Linked DNA regions of Homo sapiens: regions 1, 2 and 3 are each linked to region 4. The links are contacts of gene promoters, found by promoter capture Hi-C in blood cells and fetal thymus (Javierre and others, 2016). All regions are on one chromosome and are shown on one strand. The core of a region is centred on a gene start or on the middle of the fragment in contact, and the rest is flanking DNA. Distances in the headings are between cores, read along the strand shown. Region 1 holds the start of ANKRD50 (ankyrin repeat domain containing 50). Region 2 overlaps TRPC3 (transient receptor potential cation channel subfamily C member 3). Region 3 holds the start of BBS7 (Bardet-Biedl syndrome 7). Region 4 holds the start of NUDT6 (nudix hydrolase 6).

What was found. The method cuts DNA at HindIII sites, captures the fragments that hold promoters and counts their contacts. A CHiCAGO score of 5 or more calls a contact.
Region 1: the fragment with the promoter of ANKRD50 here is called in contact with the fragment with the promoter of NUDT6 in region 4 in 1 of 17 cell types (fetal thymus); the score reaches 5.9 in fetal thymus.
Region 2: a fragment that was not itself captured here is called in contact with the fragment with the promoter of NUDT6 in region 4 in 4 of 17 cell types (total B cells, non-activated CD4 T cells, naive CD8 T cells and 1 more); the score reaches 6.2 in total B cells.
Region 3: a fragment that was not itself captured here is called in contact with the fragment with the promoter of NUDT6 in region 4 in 2 of 17 cell types (naive CD8 T cells and fetal thymus); the score reaches 7.4 in naive CD8 T cells.

Annotation. Positions count from the first base shown.
Region 1 is chr4:124,710,352-124,713,981 of GRCh38, forward strand. ANKRD50 (ankyrin repeat domain containing 50) reads right to left here and starts at 2,381. Exons shown (of 5, transcript NM_020337.3): 1 at 2,107-2,381; 2 at 1-923. The coding sequence starts at 160. RefSeq lists enhancers at 1,789-2,354, 2,355-2,920 and silencers at 1,868-2,107, 2,258-2,637. The HindIII fragment of the contact is 8,904 bases long and covers 63-3,630 here.
Region 2 is chr4:121,884,569-121,888,033 of GRCh38, forward strand. All of the region lies in intron 10 of TRPC3 (transient receptor potential cation channel subfamily C member 3), which reads right to left. Among named protein-coding and RNA genes, the nearest start is that of BBS7-DT, 16 kb to the left of the region's middle. The HindIII fragment of the contact is 1,720 bases long and covers 707-2,426 here.
Region 3 is chr4:121,867,914-121,871,379 of GRCh38, forward strand. BBS7 (Bardet-Biedl syndrome 7) reads right to left here and starts at 2,561. Exons shown (of 19, transcript NM_176824.3): 1 at 2,365-2,561; 2 at 68-133. The coding sequence starts at 2,400. It overlaps BBS7-DT (BBS7 divergent transcript), which reads left to right and starts at 2,738. Exons shown (of 1, transcript NR_186650.1): 1 at 2,738-3,466. RefSeq lists an enhancer at 2,262-2,491. The HindIII fragment of the contact is 5,906 bases long and covers 1-3,466 here.
Region 4 is chr4:122,920,673-122,924,215 of GRCh38, forward strand. NUDT6 (nudix hydrolase 6) reads right to left here and starts at 1,925. Exons shown (of 5, transcript NM_007083.5): 1 at 1,663-1,925. The coding sequence starts at 1,900. AFG2A (AAA ATPase AFG2A) reads left to right here and starts at 2,406. Exons shown (of 16, transcript NM_145207.3): 1 at 2,406-2,633. The coding sequence starts at 2,471. RefSeq lists enhancers at 2,069-2,605, 2,398-2,767. The HindIII fragment of the contact is 3,202 bases long and covers 421-3,543 here.

The sequences.
Region 1 (3,630 bases), core at 1,131-3,630, 1.8 Mb after region 4:
CAAGTGATGGTGCATTGACAGCACTATTGCAGCAGTTACTTTTCTCCTGGAGGCAATGCTGAAGCTTGTGGAAAACCCACTCCCTACAGTAAAACTGCTTCCCTTGCAGTAAACTGGTTTGAGCCATTTTGCAGACTTTCTCTTCCCAAGGATTAGTCATAACGGGTTTTTTATCTTCATTTGCTAGAGTCTGGATACATCAACACAGGTCTTTCCATCCATTATGACATAACTTGTATATTAAGTTGACTCTGAAGACAGAGTAACTAGTTACAGTAAAATTCAACAGCCACAGAGTTCCTCTGTCAACAGAACGTGCATGACTTTATTTGGTTCCTTATTCTTGATCAGCAGTCTATGTATTAGTTGTTGAACTGAGGGAGAAACGCCTGATTCCACAGCTCAGCAACACTTTTCCTAAATTTTAATGAGTCACATAACTCCATGGTTATAACTGGAGTTTATGTGATTGTGGATGTTTCAAGAACAGAGATGAGACAATACATGTGGAAAACTAAAGAAAAAACCCAATCTTTCAATTTGTACAAAATGCTTCTCCAGATTCCAAGTGTTAATTCTGCATCTGACAATTAGATTCTGAAAAGAGGTCCACTGCATTAAATGGCATCAGAGAGATTACATTTATACGGTATGAGGTACAGTATGTAAGTAGCTCTGTATTTCTCGTTGAAGGATGATCACTCAAGAGTACTAGATCGTGCCAGTTTCAGGCATCTGGGCAACTGCCAGGAACTGTTTCAGATTATAGTCTCTTATGTGGCAGAAATGACAACCACTGTTAACACCTTCTTAATTCAAAGCATTCATAATATGCATTTTTCAAGACAGCAGATTCTTAATGAACCTGTTCACAGGTTTCTTGGTTTTAAGACGTCCGGGTAATCAACAATTTCCACAAGTAACTAAAATAAAACAAACAAAAATACCTCAGTGCAAAATATCATATGTTAAAAACTTATTAAGGACAATAAAGGTTGCAGTGTACCAGTTAACGTAATCTCAAAAATCCACGTACTTCACCTTTGGCACTTTCAAAAAGTTGGACAAAAACCACTGAAATAATCACATTCTCCCTTCTGCATTTTTCTTCCTCATTGTTATGCTTCCCAAACAGCCACATTTTAATCAAGTTACCCAAGATTTTTGCAACTTCACCATAGCAAAGGAGGGGGGGAGAAACTTTACGCACATACAGTAACACCCTTAACTCCAGGCAAAACGCTCATTCACAGTAGACTGGTAGAACAGCGCCAGCTAAGGAAGCTCTATTAACTTACACAGTCCAGTCAGTCAAGGACTGTCTACTCCTCCAGCCACACTTCTTTGTTGATAATGTGCAAAAATCTAGGGGAAGATTACCAGGGTTGCAGCTGGATGGGAAACGGTTTAAAAAAAAAAAACAAAAACGATGGGGGATGACTGTTCTTATAAGAATGATAAAGCAAACACAAGTAAAATGTGAATCCTTCCTTCCTCTGGGCCAAGGATGGAGGTCAGGGATAAAATCTACCAGTCTGGCCGGAGAAAAGGCTGCTAGAGAGAAATTCCTTCCAAGACAGGAAAGGGATAAAGAGTAGAGTGCTTCGGTGCTGGTGGGTGTCTGCCCACAGGTCCGGCCTCCAGTTTCAGCTGACAGACAAAAGGAACTCCGGGATTCCCAGCGCCGGGCACCACCTTGGGTTGGAACCGCCCAGAGGAGCCACAGGGGAGCCACCTCAGAGAGGCCACGAGCGAAGGTGCAGCCTCCACACCGAGGTCTGCCCTTCCAGAGGCTGGGAGCGCCTCTGCACCCCGCCCCGCACCGAGATTGGGGTGTGTCTTTTGAAGGGGGAGGGGGTGACTGAGGTCCTTGCCAATCCCAGACGAGGGGTCGCCTCCCGGTCGGCTTCCGCCTCTGCGCTCCCGCCCCATGCCCCGCTCCCGCTCCCACCCGGCCGACGGCGGTGCGAGGGAAGAGGGCAAATCTGGGGCTCGAGGCCGGAGAGGGTGGGTGGTTGGGTCAGGTCCAAGCCACGGCCTCGGCCTCCCAGCTTCCAACCCGAGGGAGGGGCCTCGCTTCCACCGCCGCCGCCGCCCCCCGGTTACCTCGGCCCCAGCCGCCGCCGTGGCCGCCGCTGCCGCTGTTAGGGACTCTCAGTCTCAGACACTTGCTTCGCTGAGAAGTCGCTGCCAGCAGCGCTCCCAAGACTCCACTCCAACTGCAGCCGCCTCCTCCGCCGGGCCCGGGGCACGCTCCCAGCTCCGGATCCTCCTCTTGGCCCCCGGCGGCTGCCAGTTCCAGCTTTCCCAGCAGAATCGGTCGTGCTCGCCCCAGCCCCCACCGGCCAACCGCCGCCGCCGCCGCCGTCAGGGCAGTAACTGTCTCAGGCAGCCCCCGGCCGGCCGGCTCCGCCCCGCCCGCCCAGCCCAGACCCCGCCCCCGCCCCCGCCCCCGCCCCGCCGCTCGGCCTTTCTTTGCCCGCCGGCTCCGCCTCCGCGTCCTTCCCCTCCCCCACCGCGCTCTCCCGCAGCATCCCGTGCCTGGGCGTGTGCGGCCGCCTGGGACCCGCTGCCGGCGCGGCGGGGAGACCTGTCTCGGGGCGGCGTGGGGGCCCCGCCTTTCTCAGGGGAGGCGGAGAACGGGGCGGGGGCTGCGTTCTCACGTCTCCGAGCTCACGCGAGTCGTTGCCCCCACCCTCCCCGTCACCACTGGGCCCTGATCCTTCCTTTGTCTTCCAGGCCGGAGGGACTCGCCGGCTGTTGGTGCCGTATCTGCTCCTGGGAGGGGCAGTTGGGTAGGGGGAGATTGCCTCTTGCCTCTCTCTGCTCAACCCTTTTGCCTCTCCCTTAACCCCGTTGCTTCCAAAGCCACTTCGGGCCCCGTTCTACCCCTCAGTCGTCCGGTCTCCTTTCAGTCCATTAAATTCCAGGGATGCTTTTACTTTGGCTGGGACGAAGAGAAGGAAGGAAAAGACTGGGAAGAATGTTGCGAAAATAGAAATAGTGGGGGTATACAGCGACATTCCTACCAGCCTCATGAAAAGGACGTGGCCTCCATCAGATGGAGGTTGACAGCAGGCTTGACTGGGTCTCAGGCCCCTGCTCCTCAGGGCCACTTGATCACCCGCAGCGTCCACTAGGGGGGAAGGTCTTGGTCATGTGGCGTCAGGAAATGCCCTAGAGGGCCTGCTCACAGGGGCCTGTTGGACTAAGCATGTCAGTTGTTTGCACTTACTGGACCTGAGTTGCTTAGATTCCAAATTTCTCCCGGGAAAATAAGTATACCGTCAACTGATGGAATAGGAAATGTAGCATTTTTTATTTTAATTGTTTATGCTAAAATCCAGAGTGCTCTATTTCCCATTCCTCATTAACTTGCATGTGGTTATTTGCCAAAATATTAAGCCAGTCTCCCATCTAGTTTTAGAAATTTCATAGTATAGCTATCACAATAAGAAAGATGGATAAACAAATAGATCGTGTTTGTGCTTACTCTTTCATATTGTTTATTCGTGCCAATTGAGGTTTACTGATCTTAGTATTTAATTTTAATTCATGTACCCTGAATTTTGGGCTTCTTTCCTAAAACACAAGCAAAAGAGGCAGAGTATAAATTCTCCAGAATTAGGG
Region 2 (3,465 bases), core at 317-2,816, 1.0 Mb before region 4:
TACTTCAATTTTAAGAAAGTAGAAATTATGCCAAGGTCAAGTAAAAGAGAAGAATCCAGGAAGATTCAAAATGTTATGCAGAGAATAACAACAGACTGAGAGGGCCCACGCTACTGAAAAGGAAAAGCTCATTTTTCCAGTCACTGTAAGACATAAAACCTGTTGAATTTTGTAGAATCTAGATCCCAGGACAGACTCACAGCTGGATGGATCTTAAACTGGACTGATTCATTCATTCAGCAAATATTTATTGAGAGCCAATTCTGTGGCAGGTACTGTACCAGGTGCTAGGAATACAACAGTGAACACAGTCCCCAGTCCAGTGAAACTTCATATTGATATGGAACCATTCACAATAATGGGTGAACATATCAGGGATCTGGTTAAATTTAGGGGACAGTGAAGACAGATTCCTATAAAATGAAAATACAAAATTATGTGTATCAGTTGAAAGCAGCTTGAAAGGCAGTAATACAAATTGGTGGAAAAGAAATGACTATTTAAAAAGTAGTGCTGAGACAAGTTGAGCCTCTGCACAAGGCAAGAAGGTACCTGAGATTAGACAGAAATCAGTTTCGCCACACATGACACTACCTGGTAATAGTCCATCCCTTTGTTCATGTTGGAAAGATAGTTCATGAGAATTCTAAAATGATCTGCAGCTCAGAGAAGGAGACAAAGATTGGCCATCCCCATTCTATTAGGAAGCTTGTCTAGTAAACCCAAGACAGTATTGTGTAATAGGCAACAAAGACTCTTGAGGTCTCTCTCCCCCTATCGCAATAGTTCCTGAATAAAATCTGTTTTTACCACTTTAGCTGCTGTCTGGCTCTGGTTTTCTTTAACACAGTTGAGACTGTGAGTTGCAAGAACAAATCATGTAGTTTTGAGTTGTGACTCCATCATTCACAAGCTCTGGAACCTTGGTATCTTAATCTGTGTAATGGAAATGCTAGACAGTGTCTTGTAAAAGAGACAATACATGTAAATTACATAGTAGGTGCTCAAATAATATAACTATTATTCTTTCATTATTATCTATGCTTCTGTAAAGCAAATCTTGATAAATCCATCTTAATGATGGTACCACAAGCAAGGACCATGAAACTCATATGTAACAAGTAAAAGTACCATTTTAAATACTACCTTTAACTAAATTTCCAACTGATTCTTTAATTAAAGCTAGTACAAAAAATTAAACTGACCAATAACAGATTCATCTTTTTTCCCTCTTGCTCAAATTGCTAACTAACTAACACAAAAGAAGTCTATAGATTAACTTCCACATTCCACAAACCTCCAGAAATTATATAGCTTTCTTGGTACAAGCCTGTGAGTCACTCTTTAAGGAAGACATTCTAACTCTATAAAGACTATTGATTTTCTCTGTCCAGGGTATGGAAATCCTAGAGAGAGGTTCCAAAACTGAAATTGAGTGGTAACCAGGTAAAGATTCCAGGCGGTACTTACTTCAAACAGTCCTTCCTGCAAACAAACCCAAGTTCATTTTTCAACCCTCCGTTAAGACTGGGAGAAGAAATAAGATGTGGGTGGTTGGGTAGCTGCGGGGTGGTTAGATATCTTCCTTCCTGAAAGGAGTGAAAGTTTTTCTTCTCACTTGGTATTTTTACTGATTCAAATTCAACTAATAATTGTTAAGCACTCTATCAGGTACTTTTACATTCATTCTCTCACTTAATTCTACAGAGAAGCCAAATTTGACTCTTATTAGTAGATTTTGTACTATGAATTTTAACAATCTAAAAAGTGTGAATGAAGGGTAATAAGACTGATGTAGACAAATAGAAAAAAAACTCAGAAGTACAGAGTAAAATTTTAGAAAGGAAAAGGACCTTGGGAATCATTGTTTTTCATGTTTTTATACCACTCACGAAACTTTGTGAAAGATTACCATTACACAGCTTCTGTATAAACTTCTGTGATTGAGGGCCTGCTATTTTTCCAGACAGCTGGTTTAATCTATTTTTGGACAACTATAGCTGTTAGAAAACAACTCCTTTGTTTTGAAGCCAAAATAACTATCGGTCCAAATTCTGTTCTTTGGGGTAACAGAGAATAAATTTGTTTTTTATTCTACTTGATTGACTTTTACCTGTTACTTTTTTCTGCATTTTTTTGTTTTTTGTTTTTTTTGAAGAGGGACCTGCAAACCTATTGATTGACTTTAAAATATCTTCTCTTGTAGGTTTCCCAGTTCTGTTGACCTAAAGAAAAAATCTGAGGCAAACTAAATATATAAGTAGAGAGTTTATCTGGGCCAAGTTTAAGGACTGCAACCTGGGGAGCACAGATTCAAGTTGCCCTGAATATGTGCTCCAATTCGCAGCAATTACTAGTGGGTTTTTAAAGGAAAAGAAGAGGCAGTTCCTAAGTTGTTTATCAAGGACTTACATTGAAATAACATAAGCTTTTGACTGGTTATACATTGTTCTTTGTATCACAAATTCTAGGTACATGAAGATAACAGGTGAGGCTGCAAGTCAGGAACAAATGAATTTAAACAACTGCCCTCAGGCGTGGGTAGAGGTAGGGGACTGTGACTGAAAGTCCCATACTCATGTTCTCTGGGCCTGCATACCTCACATAGTTCAGACTGCTCTGAGCTATTTTTGTTTTCTCTATTCCCAAACCATTTTATTTATATTTCATTGCATTTATATTTATTTCTATTTCATATATAGGCATAACTATACTACATAGCATGTAGCGTTATGTGAATATTTGTCTACTTATACTTTCCTTTCCTTCCTCCTAACCTCAACACTGCCATTCTACTTCAATGGAGAGATTCTTGAAGGCATGACTTATATCTTTGTATCTGTATAACCTAACATCATGTATATAACAGGGGTTGTCCCTGAATGTGCCTGAAGCTCACTGTGAGTGGAGTTCAGGAACATCTCATTTTGCCCCATTTAGAGAAAAACTCTCATGTGCTTCCAGTAAAACCAAGCCATCAATGATATCCTTCATGGATTGGACCAGAGTCCACCACCTGGGCCAAAGACTGTCCAATACTGTATTTGTTTGGACCAAGGGTGTTACCAAAGCGAAGTCATCTGTGAAAGCAGATCTGCCAGCAAGAGACAACAGAGAGAATAAAACTCAAGAACTCATAGTCCAGCTTCAGTGGAGTCTCACAATAAATTCCTATTTCTTAACATATCATAGCATATCTGCGTGCTTTTAACTTGAAATAACCAAACACAAATATCGTTATAATAAATAATAAATAAAATATTGTTAAAATTAGCAGAATTTAATCATGGCCATCCTCCTGAGTATGTTCTTGAGAAAAAAATCACGCCCAGTTAAAAAAAATTCTTTACACACATAAAAGAATTACTTCAACATGCTATTAATAATTAATTTTAATATAAATACCACTATTGATCAAAACATTTTTGGTATTTTTTTTTTTGAGAGAAAGCGTCTTGCTGTGTC
Region 3 (3,466 bases), core at 1-2,500, 1.1 Mb before region 4:
AAGGAAATAGGAGCCTCTCCTCTGTCACTGCTAGGGAATAGTGGAGAAATCAGAATCTATACAGTACCTTTTGTGTAGCTCTGTGTCTTGAGGCAGGAATTAGCTTCATAGTCTTCTGAGATGTTACTCCCACCTAAAGAAAAACACCAGATGCCTAGTGAATTTAATTTGAAGTTATTACAGAGATTAAAATAAGTTATAGTGAACCTTTTTGTTAAACTGAAATTAGTGATATAACTATTATCAGTAATTAATTTATTTTCTAATGAGATATGTCATATTAGTCAGAATACATATAGGAAACAACCAAAATAGTAAAATTTATCCTATAAAGTTGTCAAGCCAAAAATAGTTGTGTAAGATGACTGGCAAGATGCTTTACTAAAAAATATCTCTAGAAGCCTTCTTTTCCAACTGCATACAGTTGTTCAGCAAAGTGATTCAAGAACTTTGAAAATAGATTATAGTTATTAAAAATGCAACGGAAGACCACATGCAGTGGCTCATGCCTGTAATCTCAGCACTTTGGGAGGCTGAAGTGGGAGGATCACTTGAGCCCAGGTGTTCAACACCATCTAGGCAACACAGGGAGACTCTGTCTCTACAAAAAATAAAAAATTAGCTAGGCATGGTGGTGCATGCCTGCAGGCCCAACTACTTGGAAGGCTGAGGCAGGAGGATAACTTGAGTCCAGGAATTTGAGGCTGTGGTGAGTCATGATCATGCCACTGTACTCCAGACTGGCTGCGTGACAGAACAAGACCCTGTTTCAAAAAAAAAAAAAAAAAAAAAAAAAAAAAAAAGAAGATTTATGCTAAAATACCAAATATGATAATGGCCATAACATCCAATCTAACAGGTGAAGATTATTTTACAAAAAAATACAGAGGATGAAAGCAGCAGGGAACTGTCACTGCTGGTGTATAGTTAGGAGAAGAGGATGGGACCAATGGGAGAGGAATTGGTGAAAACAACACATCATGATAAAACGTTCATATAGTATAAATGACTTTATTCTGCATTCCAGAAAATTGTATTAAAGTCATCTGCTTAGATTTGTATTTCTGAAACATCAATCTAGCAAGTGATGTGAAGGATGGCTTGGAGGGAGATGAAGCTGGAGTTCAGGAGCCCAATTTGGAGGTTATTTCAATTATTCAAGCAAGAGAAGATGAGAACCCAAATGAGGGTAATAGAGATGGAAGATATGGGACAGATTCAAGAGATATTTGGGAGTTAAAAGCAGTAAGATGTGGTGACCAGTTGGATATGGAAGTACATAGCATAAACCCCTAGAAAATTGACTGGGCAAACATTTGTACCATTAACTAAAATGAGGTGGCCTAAAAATATGATGAGGAATTGGGGTAGAGAGAATTTTAGGTCTGAAAGAAATTCTGAAAGGCAGTGTAGTGTAACAAAAATACACCAGTTCTGGAGTCCGAGACTTTGATTCAAATAGCCACTCCCTAATTTTTAGCTATTAAGCAAATTACTTGCCTTCTCTAACCCCTTAGATCCTCATTTATAATATTGTCTACTTTGCAAATTCTTATGAGGATTAAATATGTTGGTAGGTATGCTAAATTCTTAGAATAAGCTAGATGCACATTAAACTGTTGTCATTGCTTTTTTTCCCCCTTTCGAGACAGTCTCGCTCTGTCGCCCCAGCTGGAGTGCAGTGGCATGATGTCAGCTCACTGCAGCCTCCGCCTCCCGAGTTCAAGCGATTCTCCTGCCTTAACCTCCCGAGTACCTGGGATTACAGGCGCCCGCCACCACACCGGGCTAATTTTTGTACTTTTTGTAGAGAAGAGGTTTAACCATGTAGGCTAGGCTGGTCTCGAACTGCTGACCTTAGGTGATCCGCCCGCCTCGGCCTCCCAAAGTGCTGGGATAACAGGCGTGAGCCACTGCCCCCGGCCCGGTTTTCATTGCTTTTACCATGATCTGCCTGGTGCGGTACAGCTCACAGTAAGAAACAAGTGCCTGGTGCTCCGCAAAAGGGTCCGGGTAGAGATGGAGATTGAGGATTAGAGGCCCTCAGGCAGCCACGGCTAGGGAGGAGGAGAAGGGCCCTGGGGGGAATCCGGGATGAGACAGTGTCACATTTTCAGAGCATCCTCAGGACCCGGCAGAAGCCAGTACCGTGGGGGCTTGTGCCGCTTTTCCCCGGTCCCCTCGGACCGTCACAGACGAAAGGGAGCTGCCCAAAGGCGGGGTGCTGAGAGGTCGGCACCCAGCCCGGCTCCTTCGCCTCCGCACCAGCTCCTGGCGACCGAGACTTTCGTCAGTGGAAGGAAGGAATCCTCTCCGGGTGCTGGGCTTGCCCAGCGCGGCGCCCGCCCTATCCCTTGGGTTTACCTGCAGATAATCCATTCGGTTTAAAATCAGATCCATGATGACTACGCGGAGGGGCTAAGCAGCGCCGGACAAGAACAGGAGGGACAGAGGCTTCGGGCCCGCAGGCCTCCGACCCAGTCAGAAGGCTGCCCGCGCCCCTCAAAAGCCAGCCCCAGCTACCGCGCCTAGGTCCTGGGCTGCACAGGCGGGGCGACAGGGCAGTGGCGTCCTGCGTGACGTCAGTACGCTGCTGCGAGGGGCTCCTGGAAGAAGATGAAGGCCCGCCCCTTTCCCGAAGCACCGCCCACTGACAGCGTGTTCCAATCAGAGGCGGAGAGGAACAAAAGAGGCGAGGTCCGGGAGACCCATACAGGGCGGTTTCCACAGAGACCCCAGACGCAGTCTTGGCTCCACCCTCACCGCGGCCCAGGGCTAATACTGGACTTCTTTCCTTATCGCTGTAGAAAAAACTAGATAAGCCTGCTAGATTCTGACCGATTTCACTCTGACATTGGAAAGGGTCCTACAAAGAATTAGGTTCCACCGTTATAGGTGCTAGCTTACAGCAGCGGTTCTTAGACTTTTGGCCTTAGGACTTATTTACAAGACTCTTAAAAACCGTTGAGGAGCACAAAGACCATTTGCTTTTTGTGGGTTTTCTCTCATTTTTAATGTTTTTTTTATTTCAATAGTTTTGGGTGTACAGGCGGGTTTTGGTTACATGGATGAGCTCTTGAGTGGCGAATTCCGAGATTTTAGTGTACCCGTCACCCACCAGTGTACACTGTACCCAATATGTAGTATTTTATCCCTCACCCCGCTCCCAATCTCCTCCCTACCTGGAGTTCCCAGAATCCATTATATCGCTCTGTATGTCTTTGCATCCTCATAACTGAACATGCAGTATTTGGTTTTCTATTCCTAAGTTACTTCACTTAGAATAATGGCCTCCAGTTCCATCCAAGTTGCTGCCAAAAGATATTATTTCGTTCCTTTTTATGGCTGAGTAGTATTCAATGGTGTATATATACTACATTTTCTTTATCCACTCGTTAGTCAATGGGCACTTAGGTTGGCCCCATATCTTTGCAATTGCGACTTATGCTGCTATAAACATGCGTGT
Region 4 (3,543 bases), core at 675-3,174:
GGGGTAGTGCTTTGATCACCTGTTTGGTCATTGATAAGTATCAGTGGGTACAACACCTGTGTCTACCCACACACTGGAAGATAAAACGATTGATTCTCCTATTAGTGACACTGTTGCAGTATAAGCGGGCTTGTCAGCAATTACTAGCAAGTAGGAGAGAAAATAATGTGAAGAGGTAAGAAGTCTGGGAATGAGGATGAGTAAACATTGAAATAACTAGCTCAATTATATTTACAGATATGCTTCTTGCCATATTGCTCAATAGGATAAAGATTATTTTGAGTTTCCAGTGTGAGAGATTTTTCCATAGTTGAATTTGCATGCTATGCCTTCAATTAGATTATAAAACCCTCAGAGGCCGTTTGAAAAACTGCTGCACCACTAAATCGACTTCTTCCAAAGTGAAGGCTCCTCCATCCAAGCTTTCTTATCATTGGGCTCAAGGTTGAAAGCCAGTAAAAAGTTTTCTTATTGAAGACTGAAACCACCCACCACCGTCCCTGGTTAATCATAAAAGAAGCGTTATTCTAAAAAACTCCAGTTCTCGCTGAGACAGCTGTTGACCCAATTTGTATACAAATGTGACACTCTGAACCTCTCTGGTTTAGTATTTGATAGCCCAACAGGGTGACTATATTCAATAAAGATTCAGGCTGGGTGCAGTGGCTCCTGCCTGTAATCCCAGCACTTTGAGGGGCCAAGGCGGGAGAATCAGTTGAGCCCGGGAGACTGAGACCAGCCTGGGCAACACAGTGAGACACCGTTTCTAGAAAAAATAGAAAAAAGCCAGATGCGCGCCTGTAGTCCTAGCTACCCAGGAGGCTGAGGTGGGAGGATTGCTTGAGCTCAGGGGTTGGAGGCTGCAGTGAACCCTGATCCTACCACTGCACTCTAGCCTGGGAGACAGAATGATACCCTCTCTCAAAAAAAAAAAAAAAAAAAAAAACAAACTGTACATTTAAAAATAACTAAGAGTAACTGGATTATGGTTGAATGCTTGTGGTGATGAGTATCTCATTTACCCTGATGTAATTATTACACATTTATACCTCTATCAAAATAGCTCATATACCCCATAAACATACACACCTACTATGGACCCACAAAAATTAAAAATAAAAAAGAAAAGCCTCTTTGGTCCACTCAGTCCACCACCCGTATTAGAATGTAAGAGTTTTTTTCCTTGGGAAAAGTGTCCGACAGAACCAAGGCTCGGTAAAGGATACTAATAATGTAATAATATAATATTAACAAACATCTACTGAGCTTTAAATACGTGGCAGGCACTGTGCTGTGCACTTTATGTGCATTATCCAAATTAACTCTCAGTAATTCCAGGAGTTCTTATCACCGGGGTCTGTGGAAGAGGAAATGGTGGTTTACGGCAATTTCCGAATGTCGCACAGTAGAAAGTGGACCAGCAACCAGGGTTGCAGATCCCAAAGTCCGGGATCTTCACCATTTCACCCAACCGCCTTAGAGACCTCCCAGCAAAAGGTCTAAGCACGAATGCTCCAGAAAACAGGTCCAGGTCACGCGTGCCTTCTCCCTTTCCCTCTGGGCTCGACAGTGGTGCACAGAGCGACTAGGGAGTGGGGGCCGCGGTTATTTCATTAGAAAAGCTCTGGAGCCCCGGGAGCCCTTCGTCCCAGGCGCACTTGCCCTGCAAGCCCTTCTGGAAGGCGGCAGCGTCCAGGCGGTCCAGCGCATCGAGCCGCGCCAGGCGCACCGAGATGCCCCCGAATCTGTCCAGCTCGCCCTGCAGATCGCACGCTCCAACTGGCGGATTCCGCACGTAACCCTGTGCGCCCGAGGCCCAGCGGTAACCCGCCGAAGGCCCGGGGCCGTAGGTTCGGGCAAGCATCGCGCGCCAGCGGCCCCAGCTCAGTGGCTGCCGCATCTCCACGCCGCTTAATTCGTCCGTTGCCCAAATGACCCCTCCGCGCTCCAGAGCGGAGATCGCGGCCGTACATTTTAGAAGAGTGCCATCAATACCCTCAGAGTTGAGCTGGGGTTACCACTCTGCAGAGCTATGCCAAGGAGACCGCGAAGTGGTCCACCAGCCCTTCTCAGCAATTTGCCCCGCTCCAGTTAAGCGGGGAAAACCTCCTCCCCCACCGCCACTCACTTATTTTGTTTGGTAGTTTAATTCAACAGACGTTGGTTTAGGGATGGGGAAGCCGGGAGGAGATGCAAAAACGTCCTGTTTTTCAGGAATTTACAATCTAAGTGGCAGTTCCGTTCCTGGAACCTATCTTCTTTCACAGATGCCGTTACAGCTGTTTCAAAGACTGCTGGTTTTGAAAACGCTCAGTCCCTCCCACCACGCTGTGCACTGCTGCGCTCCACTCAGGGGATTACGGCGCAGGGGCGGACCCTCGCTGACTTCTGCCCCGGAAGTTTTTCTCTCAGTTGAAGCGCGCACATTGAGTCGGCTTTTCTACTGCTTCGGCTAGGGTACCTTGTGACCATGTCTTCCAAGAAGAATAGAAAGCGGTTGAACCAAAGCGCGGAAAATGGTTCGTCCTTGCCCTCTGCTGCTTCCTCTTGTGCGGAGGCACGGGCTCCTTCTGCTGGATCAGACTTCGCGGCAACCTCCGGGACTCTGACGGTGACCAACTTATTAGAAAAGGGTAAAGAATTCCGGGTGGGAGACTAGAGGCCGAGGGGGCGCAACCTGAGGGGCGGGAGACTCAGTGATACTGACTTGGGGTGCAGAGACTTTTGAAAGTTGGGCGTGGCATGGGTCTGAGAGCGGCACAGAAGCGTGTAAGACTTCTGTATGTAAGAAGCATGCAAACGTAGCCGCGCCTGCACTGGAGAAGTTAGGCTGAAATGGTTTATCCGTGTCCAAGGTTTCTCTTTTGTAAATTATTTTGAATTTTTAAGTTGCACTTGAAACGCTTTGTCTCATTTAACATTAACGACACATTTAATTGCAAAATTGTTCATAACTAGCGAACATGGGATACTTATCCTAAAAAACTAAATAACCAATTCAGTAAAAATGTGGATCACTCTGCCTTTAGGAGTGATGATAGCATTTTCTTCCAGTACTACGCAGGTTATGATATTTAATAACTGCTAGTAACTGCACACTAGTGTTAGCAGTATATATAGCTCATCTAATTTCTACAGAAGCCGTGACCGATGGGTATAGTAATGACAGTTTTATAGAGGGAGGAAAGTTAACGTGATTCCATTCAGGCTACACAGGTGCTAAGTGGCAGAGCCGATATTTGAGTCCAGATGTGTTTGACTTAAAAGCCATTCCTAGATGACAGCTCCTTTGATTTGGGAGAACGTATTTATACTGAAAAGTCTTATAAATTGAATTAAAAATTGAAAATTTATATTTGATGTGTAATAGCTTTGAAAAATGGACCAGACTAGTGGCAAAAACTTTTATGTCTAATCAGACCTTAAAGACAATTTAGAGTTCACATGGTATTTTCACTCTGCCTTAGGTATCAGAGGACAACTTGTTCTGTCCTGAAGGTTCAACTTGTTTTTGAACTAGATCCTTCCCATTGACATGTAAAC